Regions from separate parts of the Homo sapiens genome. Here all the other regions are linked to region 2. Evidence: promoter capture Hi-C in human tissues and cell types (Jung and others, 2019). All regions are on one chromosome and are shown on one strand. The core of a region is centred on a gene start or on the middle of the fragment in contact, and the rest is flanking DNA. Distances in the headings are between cores, read along the strand shown.

Region 1 (3,960 bases), core at 1,432-3,931, 75 kb before region 2:
ACTAGACAAAAGCAAGTCCTGCATGGAACGATGGGAGTATGTCATAAACCAAGACTCATAAGCAGTCCAGTTTTGTGTCCCTAAGGTCAAAAAAAAAAAAAACTTCAGCACCAGGCACAGTGTCTTGCATATAGCAGATACTCGAAAAATGTTTCTGGAATTAATCATTACTTTGACAACAATGTAAGGATCTATCAGAGTGAGATCAGGCAAAGACCAGCAGAGAGGGTGTGGCTATAAACCATGCAAGAATTGCTGAAGGCAGGAGCGATGGGAACAATCAAGGAGAGGGTGGTGTCTGAAGGTTTAATGCAATGTAGAATCCACAGGACTCGATGACTGATTAGACGTGGAGATTGGGAGGAGAGATGAGTCAAGGTGTATAACGAGGATTTGGGATCCCAAAAACAGATCATGAGCCATTTCATGTCTCACTGTTTTGTTCCCCCAACATTTCATTATGGAAACTTCTCCAGATACAGAAAATTTTAAAGAAATGTGTGGTGAACACATACATACTAACCATCTAGATTCTACAATTACTACTTGGGTGTATTTTGTCTCACACTCATCTATCCTTCTATCCATCCCTCCAGCCACTCATCAATCCATATATTTTTAAGGAAGCGGTTCTGTTACATTGCAATGGGAAGAAAACAAATTTCAAAGAAAATATCTCATCTCCTTAAACACAGAAACCAAATGGTCTACGATGATGTCAAGCCATCTCCTCATCCAAGGTGATGAGACACTGCTTCAAAACACTCCTTTGGGGCTATTTATCACATCATTCACATTAATAATAAGCAGATTACTTTGGAAGCAAATATTGATGTCCTTAATTGTTGTTTATGGGAGTTTTATGGAAGTAGTAATGTGCATCACTGGCAGTTGCTCTGCAGTTTGGAAATGCACTCACTGCCTAATATTTCAAATTATTTACCATCTACATGGAGAATAATTACATTCTGCATGCTTCAAATAATATTCAGACATCAGTTACAATCAACATCTACTCCTTGGGTTACGTAGTAGTCTTCCTTCTCTATATAAATCGGCTATCATAATTTGATGAAACAGGGCTGCACTTATGAAAATTCTTTCCCAGGGGAGACTAGAAGTCATGCTCATTTCTTCCAGAATAAACAGTAAGCTGTTGGATGATTCTATACCATGTCAGTGGTGCCATTTTGGTAGATGATGGTAGGGTCTATACAGGGGTCAAATTCAGGTTTCCATTTTATTTTCTGGAGAAAAGCATCCCATTGTTGTGTCATCTGCCCATTTCCAAGTACTCCCTTTCTGTTTGTTTCTCTTGCCTGTCTTTGCACCAACTAGTCCCTCTGCAAAAATCCTACCTCTCCCCCATCTTTATTCACCCACTTCACTTCTCATTCTTTTTTTCTTATGCTTTCTTTTTTTTAAAATTTTAAGTTCCAAGGTACATGTGCGGGATGTGCAGGTTTGCTACATAGGTGAATGTGTGTCATGGTGGTTTGCTGTACAAATCATCTCGTTACCTAAGTATTAAACCCAGCATGCATTAGCTATTTTTGCTGATGCTCTCACTCTCCCCCCTCCCCACCCTCAATAGGCCTCAGTGTGTGTTGTTCCCCTCCCTGTGTCCATGTGTTCTCATTGTTCAGCTCCCACCTATAAGTGAGACCATGCGGTGTTTGGTTTTCTGTTCCTGCATTAGTTTGCTGAGGATAATGGCTTCCAGCTCCATCCATGTCCCTGCAAAAGACATGATCTCATTCCTTTTTATGGCTGCATAGTATTTTCCATGGTGACAGGTACCACATTTTCTTTATCCAGTCTATCACGGATGGGCATTTGGGTTGATTCCATGTCTTTGCTATTGTGAATAGTGCAGTAATGAACATACACGCGCATATATCTTCATGATAGAATGATTTCTATTCCTTTGGGTATATACCCAGTAATGGGATTGCTGGGTCAAATGGCATTTCTGGTTCTAGGTCTTTGAGGAATTGCCACACTGTCTTCCACAGTGGTTTTAACTTCTCATTCTTTACAACATTGCTCAAATGTCAGTCCCCAAGAAGTCTTACCTGATTCCCCTAAGTTGAACTGTGCTCTCCCCATCACCACTTCTTCCCCCTATCATGAATTCCCTGAGAGCAAGGGCCATTTCTTTCATTTACGCAACCCCAGTGCCTACTATAGGATTATCCACCCAGGAACCCAGCCCAACCGAGCCTCCATTGTCTGGAACACAGCCCGTCTCCAAGACAGGGGGAAGAGACTGCAGTGAGTCACACAGTGGCTCTTAAAGGCTTCCATTCACATTTCACTGGCAACAGTAAGTCATATGGCCAAACCTCAGGGGCCTTGGAAGAAAAGTGTCCAAGGCATTCTCTGCTCGCACTGCTCCCTCTTTTTTCATGTCTCTCAAGCTTACAATGTTCTCCTCCTCCAGAGAAACCACGCAACCCTCAATGTTCTTTTGATTCATTGTTAAGTGCCACTTCTTTCTAAAAGCTGCCCCTGGCTCACTTTCAGCCACTCTCTGAGGTCCCAAATATTTCTTCCCTCTTCCACCATGCTGTTTCATTTCCTCTGCTTGGGGTGACATTCCAGGCAAAGCCACAGGTGAAATTAGGGCAGGGCTAACTCAACCATGATGTTTTGCTGTCTGCCACTGTCACACTCACCTGCTTGAAACCTGCTTGTTACTTACTTACCCCCTGCAAGGCACACTCGAAATAGAAAGCAACATCTACACCTTAGAACACCTAAAATGATTCAGAGAGATTCTGAGAATGAGGAAAGTACCTTCAGCCTGAATATCTAGAGTAACTGAATTTCAGAGGAATTCAGTGTCTTTCCAAATCCCCATGATTCTGTTGACACAGGAGCGGAATAGGAATTAGTCAGAAAGCAATGCTCAGTCTCAAACCTTTCAAGCTAAAGATGATGCACCCATGTCAATGGCTCAAAAGAACAGAAGAAAATCCAAAGAGCCACACCCATAAAAAATTAACGAGTTTGGCCAGGCATGGTGGCTCATGCCTGTAATCCCAACGCTTTGGGAGGCTGAGGCAGGCAGATCACTTGAGGCCAGGAGCTCAAGATCAGCCTGGCCAACATGGTGAAACCCTGTCTCTACTAAAAATACAAAAAAAGTTAGCTGAGTGTGGTGGCGCACACCTGTGGCTCCAGCTAGTCGGGAGGCTGAGGCACAAGAATCTCTTGAACCCGAGAAGCAGAGGTTACAGTGAGCCGGGATCACGCCACTGCACTCCAGCCTGGGTGACAAAGCAAGACTCTGTCTCAAATAATAATAATAAGTTTATTTTTCTAGAGCAATAAGTAGGAAAGACAACTCATGAATTTGCAGCCAACCCATGATTGGTTCCAACATGTTGCCAAGTGAAACTAATTGAGAATCACAGTAAAAGTTTGATTAGTCAGGATGCCCCGGGTCATCAGATTTGCTGATGAATTAAAATTTAACTAAAAGTTTCTGTTGGCTTAATGTTCACTGGCAAAAAAAAAAAAAATTGCTGTTCAAATAAATGAAGCTATTATCCTTCTTTATCACTCAGGCCACTAAGCATGGCTTCAAGTCCTTCAAGGATGACCAAGAATCTTTCCAAATATCTGGGCCATCTTCCCTCTTTTTCCAGTCCCCCCTCCCAGCCCCACCTACAATTTCCATCTTAAATTCACCAATTCCTGATTAGGCCAGGCCTATTCATAGTGACATGCCCTTACCCCCCCCGCCCCCGTCCCACCCCACCCATTTACCATTGCCTGAATGCCTTTCACTGGTCATTATCACCTAAATATGTTTATTAATCCTTAAACACACAACTTGCATAAATCCAATTATTCTGACAGAGCTAATAACTCTATTCCTTTTTCCTTTCTTTCTTTTTATGGAGTCTCACTCTGTTGCCCGGGCTGGAGTGCAGTGGCGCAATCTCAGCTCAC
Region 2 (3,885 bases), core at 785-3,284:
CCAACCCCCAGCCTCTCCCGCGGCCGGGGGCTTAGTGCTCCTAGTGGCTGCGTCCTCCGCCTCCAAAGTTACGGAGTTTGCGAATCGATTTAGACACTTAAAATAAAAAAAATTTAAAAAAAGCAAAAGGCAAATAGCTCCATTAATCCCCCAAAGCCTTCTCCCATCTGCTGGAACTAGCTGGTGCTGGGGCTTGCATAATGAACAAGGCAAACCCGAAAGTTGACGAAATCAGGGTGCTTGGAAGTGAGGGCGCGCGAGGAGGGGGCTCGGGCCCCCGGAGTCCACGCCAGCCAGGGCAAGGGGCTCAATCTGCAGCGATGGCCACGGCCCCGGGCAGGGAGAAGTGGTGGCCAGAGAAAGGGATGAGGTGGGTAAAGGGGCGGGGGCAGCTGAGGTCCCAAATCCAGGGACGGCGAAGCTCTGGGAAAGCGAGGCGGCCGCTCCAAGCAAGGCTTTTGTTCTCGCCCTCCCCTCACTCCACCTCCCTCGTCTCCTTTTCGCGAGTCGTACGAGTTGCAGGCGGCACTCACTCTGACCCTCCCTCCTTCACACACGCGCGCTCGGGCTCACACACGCCCCCCTCCCCTTTCGGGCTCGCCTGCCCCTGTTTACCAAAAAGCTAGCACCTGGAATCCGAGGGGTGCCATGGACCCTCTCCCCAAACCCGAAGATTTCGGGGCCACGGGCTCCCAGGCTACGTGTCTCAAGTCCGCCTCAGTCACCAGCGGGAGGAGGCGGCCAGAGGGTGAGGGAGCAGAGTCACACACACACACACACACGCTCACACACACACGAACACGCTCAGACCCACACCTGTGCTGAGCCCAGCGCCCCTTCTCCGTGTTCCAAGCCGAAGTTGGCTTCCCGGTGACATCCCCCAGCGGAGAGGCTGGGATGCGGGGAGCGGGGACCGTGGGGAGCGCCATTGCCTGGGGGAAGGTGGGGAGGAGAGAGCAGGGAGAGCGAAGCCCCGAGGGGAGGGCGAAGGGGAGGCAGCCCACCTGGACATGTGCTCCCTTTGGGGCCGGTGCGCTTTCTCCAGCCCCAGCTTGGTGAAGATGCCCACGAGCACCATGACGGCCACCACCCCGCAGATGATGTAGACGATCAGGTTGGTCTTGTCCTTGGTGGGGTCGTGCAAGGGGTCGTCCTTGCGGGCGGGGGGCTTGCCGGTGTTGAGCCAGAGCGGCGTGTCGTAGTTGGTGCAGGTGCTTTGGTTCAGTCGCCGCTTCTTAAACGTGCAGCAGAACCGGAAGCCACAAGTCCCGCAGCAGAAGATGAAGTCGCCCGAGCTGCAGTTGAACGGCGGGTCCCACTGGCCCATGACATCGAAGTAGCCCCGGCAGAAGTCCGGCGTGGGCGCCCGGGTCGGGGGCGCGTCCGATGCCTCAGCGCCCTCGCTGGCCTCTCCGGAGGCGGCCCCGGAGCGGTTGCCCCCCGCCAGCAGCAACACGCCGCCCAGTTGCGCCAGCTGCCCGTGTCCCGCTCGCTCCTGCGCCCGGCACACGCGGGCGCACAGCTCGGTGAGGAAGCAACCGAGGAGCAGCCGAAGGACGCGGCGCATGGTGTCTCCCAGCCCGGGCTCGGCCGCTCGGCCGCCGCTGGAGCCTCTGCGGCCGCCTCTCGAGGCGCGGCCGAAGCTGCCGAGGCTGCTGCCGGGAGCTGCGAGCCGCCGCGGGCCGCACATGCAGGGAGCGGCGCGGGGCGCTCGGTGGTCGGCGGCCACTGCGCTCGGCTCAGCCCGCGTTCGCCTCAGCCCGCGTTCGCCTCCAGCGCGCCGCGCGCCGAGGGGCCGGCCGGGGAGGAGCGCGCCCGGCCGGGCGGGGGGAGGATGAGCGGGGTCAAGCGCGGGGTGCAGGTCCGGCCGGCCACTGGGTGAGGCGGGGGTGGAGAGCAGAGGAGAATCGGGCTGGCAGCGCCTAGCCTTGGCCGGCAGCCCCGGACTGGCCGCCCCTAGCCCTCTCGCAGTATCCCTCTCACCTCACCAGCTCGCCAAGTGCGCTGAAGAGAGCGAAGCGACACTTGTGGAATGAAGGGAGGGCAGGAGGGAAGGGGGAGGGGGAGGAGGGCGGGCAGAGGAGGCGCGGGTGGGGGGGGGCGGGCGCGAGCTCTAGAGGGGCGGGGGCGCGGGGAAGAGGTGACTAGAGCGGGAGCTAGCTGGGGGGCGTGCAGAGCTGAGCCAGGCGAGCGGACGGGGAGGAGCGAGCTCGGCAGCAGCCGAGGCTAGAGGAGCCGCTCGGATTTCCAGGCAGGTGGAAAACCGCGGCAGGACCTCCCGCGCCCTCTCTGGGTAGGAGGCGCGGCTCAGCCCTGTCCAGAGCGCAGAGGCGGCTCAGCTCGTAGCTTTTTCACCGGTGCGTGTGCAGGAGCGGCGGCCGAAATCTGTGCATCAGGGGAAGGATGACTCGGAGAGGATGGGGACAGACTAAATGGCTTTCACTCCAAGACAGACTGGGTGCAGTCTGGTCAGGATCGCCCCTCCCAGGCGTGCGGGGCCTCCTTGCCCTTCCCGGCTGCGCCCTCCAGCCCTGAGCGCAACCCGCATGGCTCAACTCTCTGGGCCCAAGCAAGGACCCAGGCGGAGCTGGGAAGGACAGGTGGCAAGCCCCTGAGCCAGGGATAAGCACCCTCCGGGGGAGAGGGGCTCGGGATGAACGAATCAAAGAAGGTCGGGGGTAAGAGGGGACAGCCGAACAAGGCCGAGGCTATGGCGTGTCCTGGAAGGTCTTTCCTTGGAAGTCCCCCAGCCTCTCGAACCTGCCGCTTTCTGTCCCTCTTCGCCCCCGCAGCGTTTTCTGCGCTCCACAGGAGGGAACACCGCGGCGCCGCCTCTGCGCTCCCGGATCTGGCGCAGCGCAAGGCCTGGGCACCCAGCCTCAGCCACCCTCCCGGACCTGGAGCCCGCGCATCGGTCTCTGGAGCTGGCTGGCCCCTGTCCCCACGGATCCCCCCGGAAATCCTCACCGGGGGCTGCAGAGCTCTGCCTTGCTTCCTCAGCTTCCAGCCTCCCGTCTCCTCTGTGTTTCCAAATCTGCCCTCTCTCTCCTAGCGAATTCCAGCTCCCCGGAGGCCCTCTCTCATTTCTCCCACCTCTTTCTCTCCTCTGCTTGAATTTGACTCCAGTAGCCCCAAAACAGGATTTGCACCAAAGCTGCTACACCAAATTTAGATCTCCCCACGCCCCGGCGTTTTGTTTTTTAATTGCATTAACTAAGTATACACTTTGCAGGCTGCTAGGCGATTTGCAAGGAGATAATGTTTCCACAACCCTCCTCTCCACTTGGCTGCAGTCAAGGGCTTCTCAGGGCATCTTCAGAGAACGAAAAGTTGGGCGACATGTAAAATGGTTTACTAGGGTCCCCTGAATTGAGAAAGGGTGGGAGGATTTATTGGGACTCTGTTGCAAGTTTTCTCCAAATGAGAAGTTTGGCTAATCGCCCCTTCTCTTTGAAAAAAAAAGTCACATTTTGATGTTTCAAAAAAGATTTGCAAACACACAGCAAGACATTGACAGGGCATACCCAGGAGTATTATATTCCAAACCCATCTGGGGAAGGTATGAACACGTTTAATCCAGATTCACCAGATTCATTATAATAGAATCCCCAAAATAGGAGAGTATGGAAAGTCTGTCATGACTGGCAACCCACGCCCACCACCACCTTGTGAGTCCTACAAACACAAGCACTGGTGTGTGAGAGCTAATGAGAGCTGACATTTATTCAGTGCCTGCAACATACTCACTAAGCTTGCTTTTTCTAAAAGCAGCTCCTCAAGAAAGCTTAGAGCAGTGCCCAGCGTATAGCAGACAGTCTGGAAATATTTGCTGAACCACCGAGTGACTGGTTTCATGTAACTCTCTCTCCCTTAGGTAATAGTACC
Region 3 (3,876 bases), core at 1,200-3,699, 95 kb before region 2:
AGTGACTAAGGGCTCACAGGAACCCAACCCTGTATTTCCTCTAAGAGCAATGGTTAGGGATTTGCTAATTCAGTGTTTGTGGTGACCTTAGAAAATATATCTACCATGAATAATGAGGATCAACTGTACTTTATGAAGATCAACGTAAGCACTGAGTTGTTACAGACATAAATACTCATTAAGTTCTTTGAATCCAACTACTTAAAAATAAGTTATTTTCAGCCTTGGCAATACAGTGAAACCTCATCTCTATAAAAAATAAATAAATAAAATTAAAATTAGTCAAGCATGGGGGCCCATGCCTGTAATCCTAGCTACTCAGGAAGACCGAGGTGGGAGGATCGCTTGAGCCAGGAAAGTAGAGATTTCCATGAGCCACGATCGCACCACTGCACTCCAGCCTAGCCAACAGAGCGAGACATTGTCTCAAAAATAAATAAATAAGAATAAGTGATTTATTTAGCAGAAGGTGCTATGAAAAACATCACAAAGACATTAGCAGTACCATGAACTTAAAGAAAGTCTGTGAACCTTTACCCCAAGGGATGGTAGAGCTACATACCAAAAGGAGGCTGGGTCATGAATTACCACATCGGGAAAAGCTGTTTACCAGCCAAGAACACCTGCCTCAAAGTGCCACATGAGCAAGAAATAAATGTCAATTGTCTTTGAGACATTACACATGTTAGTGCTTATTTTTCTACAGTGGTACAGCCTACCTTAACTAATGCATGGACCTTCCAGGCTCTATGAAGTAAACCTGCTTCCCTATATGTTCCTCTTACTATCAGAGAGAAAATGAAGAATAGTCCAGAAACTAGGCGTGTTCAGCTCTAAGAAAATATTATATTTGGGTGGCAGGATACATTATCCCAACAAATATGTACTGAGCATTACTTTGTCTTATGTACAGGTACCGCAGATACAACAGTGAATAAAATACGGACCCAGTCTATAGTTTTCTCTTCTGGTGGAAAGGAAGAGACATAATCAAACACAATGCATTCTATCCTATTACACGCCGTGTATAACATGGTGTCTGGACGAGAAGGCACCGTTTAAGCTGAGTCTTGAAATATGCAAGCTTCTCAGGTGGATGATTATCTAGAGATATATCTAGAGGCAGAACAAGTTATGTACAAATGTGTGTACACAGAGGTGAAGGGCCTCAGTGAGTGAGCACCATGAAGGATATTTGGCAAAAACCATGTGGTGAGGCCAGATGGGAAATCAGAGTCCAGATGATGAAGGGCCTTAAATTTTAGGTTAAGGCTGGGTATGATGGCTCACACCTGAAATCCCAGCACTTTGGGAGGCTGAGGTGGGCAGATCACCTGAGGTCAGGAGATCGAGACCAGCCTGGTCAACATGGTGAAACCCTATCTCTACAAAAATACAAAAATTAGCCAGGTTTGATGGTGGGTCCCTGTAATCTCAGCTACTGGCGAGGCTAAGGTGGGAGAATTGCTTGAACCCGGGAGATGGAGGTTGCAGTGACCTGAGATCGCACCATTGCACTCCACCTTGGCCAACAGAGCGAGACTGTCTAAAAAAAAAAAAAAAAACTAGGTTAAGCCTAAACTGGAAACATGTCAAATGTCGTCAACAGGAGACTATATAGATAATTGCAGTATACTATGGAATACTACTCAGCAATAAAAGGAATGAATTACCAAGACAAACAGCAACATGGAAGAATTCAAAGATGTCCTGCCAAGCAAAAGAAGCCAGGCACAAAGGGCTATATATGTTGTGACTCCAGATATGGGATGTTCAGGACCATGCAAAACTACTGTGAAAGAAATCAAAACAGTGGTTACCTCTGAGGGATGGGTGGGGCTGAATGAAAAGAAGCATGAGGGAATTTGGGGGGTGATGAAAATGCTCTTCCTCTTGATAGAGGAGTTGGTTGCAGGGCTATATGCATGTTTCAAAACTTATTGATTTATATACTTAAGATATGTGCATCTCACTGTATGTAAATTATACTGATAAAAACTAGTCTAGCCTAAGGATTTGGCAGTTGGGGGCTGCAGAAGTGAATTTCATGCAAGCTGAGTGGTTTTATTCCCCAAAGGACTTGGGTGACTTATATAAAGCTAATTTTGGCATCCATCTTTTTCGAATTTTCTTAGCCACGAAACTTTTTTTAAAATTAAAATATTATTCACCATTCCAAAATACCAGACCTAGAGGAAGCTGTTCTGTTTGAACTACAGATAAGAAATTAAAGGCCCCTTGGAGGCTCTACCCTCAAGATCTCCCCTTCAACTCTATGGGACCCTTGAGACACATCCAAAGACCCTGAGGACCCATAGATCCCAGGTTAAAAACCACTGATCCAGCGGAGCCAGCAAGACTCCTGAGTTCGGTTGCACAGTTGAACACTGCACAAATCCAGACTACGATATGAATTGTAGGAGTGGAGATGTGCAATGTAGTCACCCTGGGGGCCATGCTGGTAAAGTGGGCAAGTCAGCAAGTCAAGCTGACCTGGGAAAGATGGTAAGTGGTAACAAGCACTCAGCCAGAGCATCAGGCTCAGGAGGGTGTTCTGGGGGCCTGTGCCAAACTGAGGAACAGAGCCCTGTTTAAAGGGGACAGCTGCTACTCACCTCCAGCTGATGGTTGCTACGTGGGAAAATGGGCTTGGCACTGCCAGATCTTCACATTTTTTTTCTTCAAGAGAAGCCAAAAATCTGGATCTTATATAAAGCCTCTCGGTTTTTCAATGCTGGAAATTAATTTAATTTGAAAAAAACACATTGTGTAGCTCAAATCAAACATATCTGCCAGACAGATCCACCTTCTAGGCCACCAATTTGCAACTTTTGGTTGTAGACTGTCATCAAAAAGCATCTGAGCTTTTGGCAACAGATAAAAAGAGGCACGTGTACATCACCCCTTTGTGTCCTGGATCCAGAAAACTGAGCTGTCTGCTTTCTGAGAGCAAAGAGACTTCATTTACACCCTCCTTCAATTTCCAGGGAATTATGCAACAAGCATTACCAGGGACATGGGCACAAACCACAACTCAAGAAGCACCATCAGAGCCGTGGGTATGTCCATGCTTTGGCCAATGATGTGCCGGAGTGACCACTATTATGAAAGCAGGAATTTCAAGACTTTCGTACACGCATCTTGACCTCAAGCCTCTCAATATAGGCAGCACTTAAATGGATAAATGAGATAAAACTGCCTAATTAAAATCTGAAGGCAGAATTTTCTTTATAAATAAATACCTAGAAATGAATGCAAACATGTTTTGATCTAATTGTCTTAAAATCTTTCTGTTGTAGGATTACTTTGAGAATTCCTCTGAGGCTTAGGGACCTTAACAGTGGGAAGGTGGAAGGAAATTCAGAATCCGAGCACATCCTTTCTGCTGGGCTGAATGCCAGATGAACATTCAAAAGACACCCTCATTTGCGTTTAAGACATCCCTCCTTAGGCCCATGTCTCTCAAAGTGTGGTCTATAGAACCCCACCATTGAATCACCAAGAAGAATCTTAAAATGTAAATTCTTGAGTTCTACCAGATGCCTATTGAGTCAGCCTCTCCATGAGTGTGGCCAAGGCACCTGCTTTCTCAGCAAGCATCAAATCACATTAAAGTTCAAGAAGTACCAGCCCAAATAGCTAAAAAGAATGAATAAGACCTGCTGTTTGACAGCTCAGTGGGGAGACTGTAGTCAATAATAACTTAATTGTACTTTTAAAACTAATTAAAAGAGTGTAAATGAATTGTTTGTAATGCAAAGGAGAAATGCTTGCGGGGATGGATTCCCCATTTACCTTGATGTGATTTTTACACCTTGCACACATGTTTCAAAATATCTCATGTACCCCATAAATATAGACACCTACTATGTACCC

The links. Contacts are between HindIII fragments. The study calls those that stand out against the background at their distance.
Region 1: a contact is called between a fragment that was not itself captured here and the fragment with the promoter of SHISA9 in region 2, in 5 of the 25 tissues and cell types used here (dorsolateral prefrontal cortex, lymphoblastoid cells, mesendoderm cells and 2 more).
Region 3: a fragment that was not itself captured here is called in contact with the fragment with the promoter of SHISA9 in region 2 in 5 of the 25 tissues and cell types used here (dorsolateral prefrontal cortex, hippocampus, lymphoblastoid cells and 2 more).

Annotation. Positions count from the first base shown.
Region 1 is chr16:12,975,445-12,979,404 of GRCh38, reverse strand. All of the region lies in intron 2 of SHISA9 (shisa family member 9), which reads right to left. Among named protein-coding and RNA genes, the nearest start is that of SHISA9, 76 kb to the right of the region's middle. The HindIII fragment of the contact is 7,727 bases long and covers 1-3,960 here.
Region 2 is chr16:12,899,747-12,903,631 of GRCh38, reverse strand. It overlaps SHISA9 (shisa family member 9), which reads right to left and starts at 2,034. Exons shown (of 5, transcript NM_001145204.3): 1 at 1,005-2,034. The coding sequence starts at 1,567. The HindIII fragment of the contact is 6,671 bases long and covers 1-3,885 here.
Region 3 is chr16:12,995,100-12,998,975 of GRCh38, reverse strand. All of the region lies in intron 2 of SHISA9 (shisa family member 9), which reads right to left. Among named protein-coding and RNA genes, the nearest start is that of SHISA9, 95 kb to the right of the region's middle. The HindIII fragment of the contact is 3,962 bases long and covers 469-3,876 here.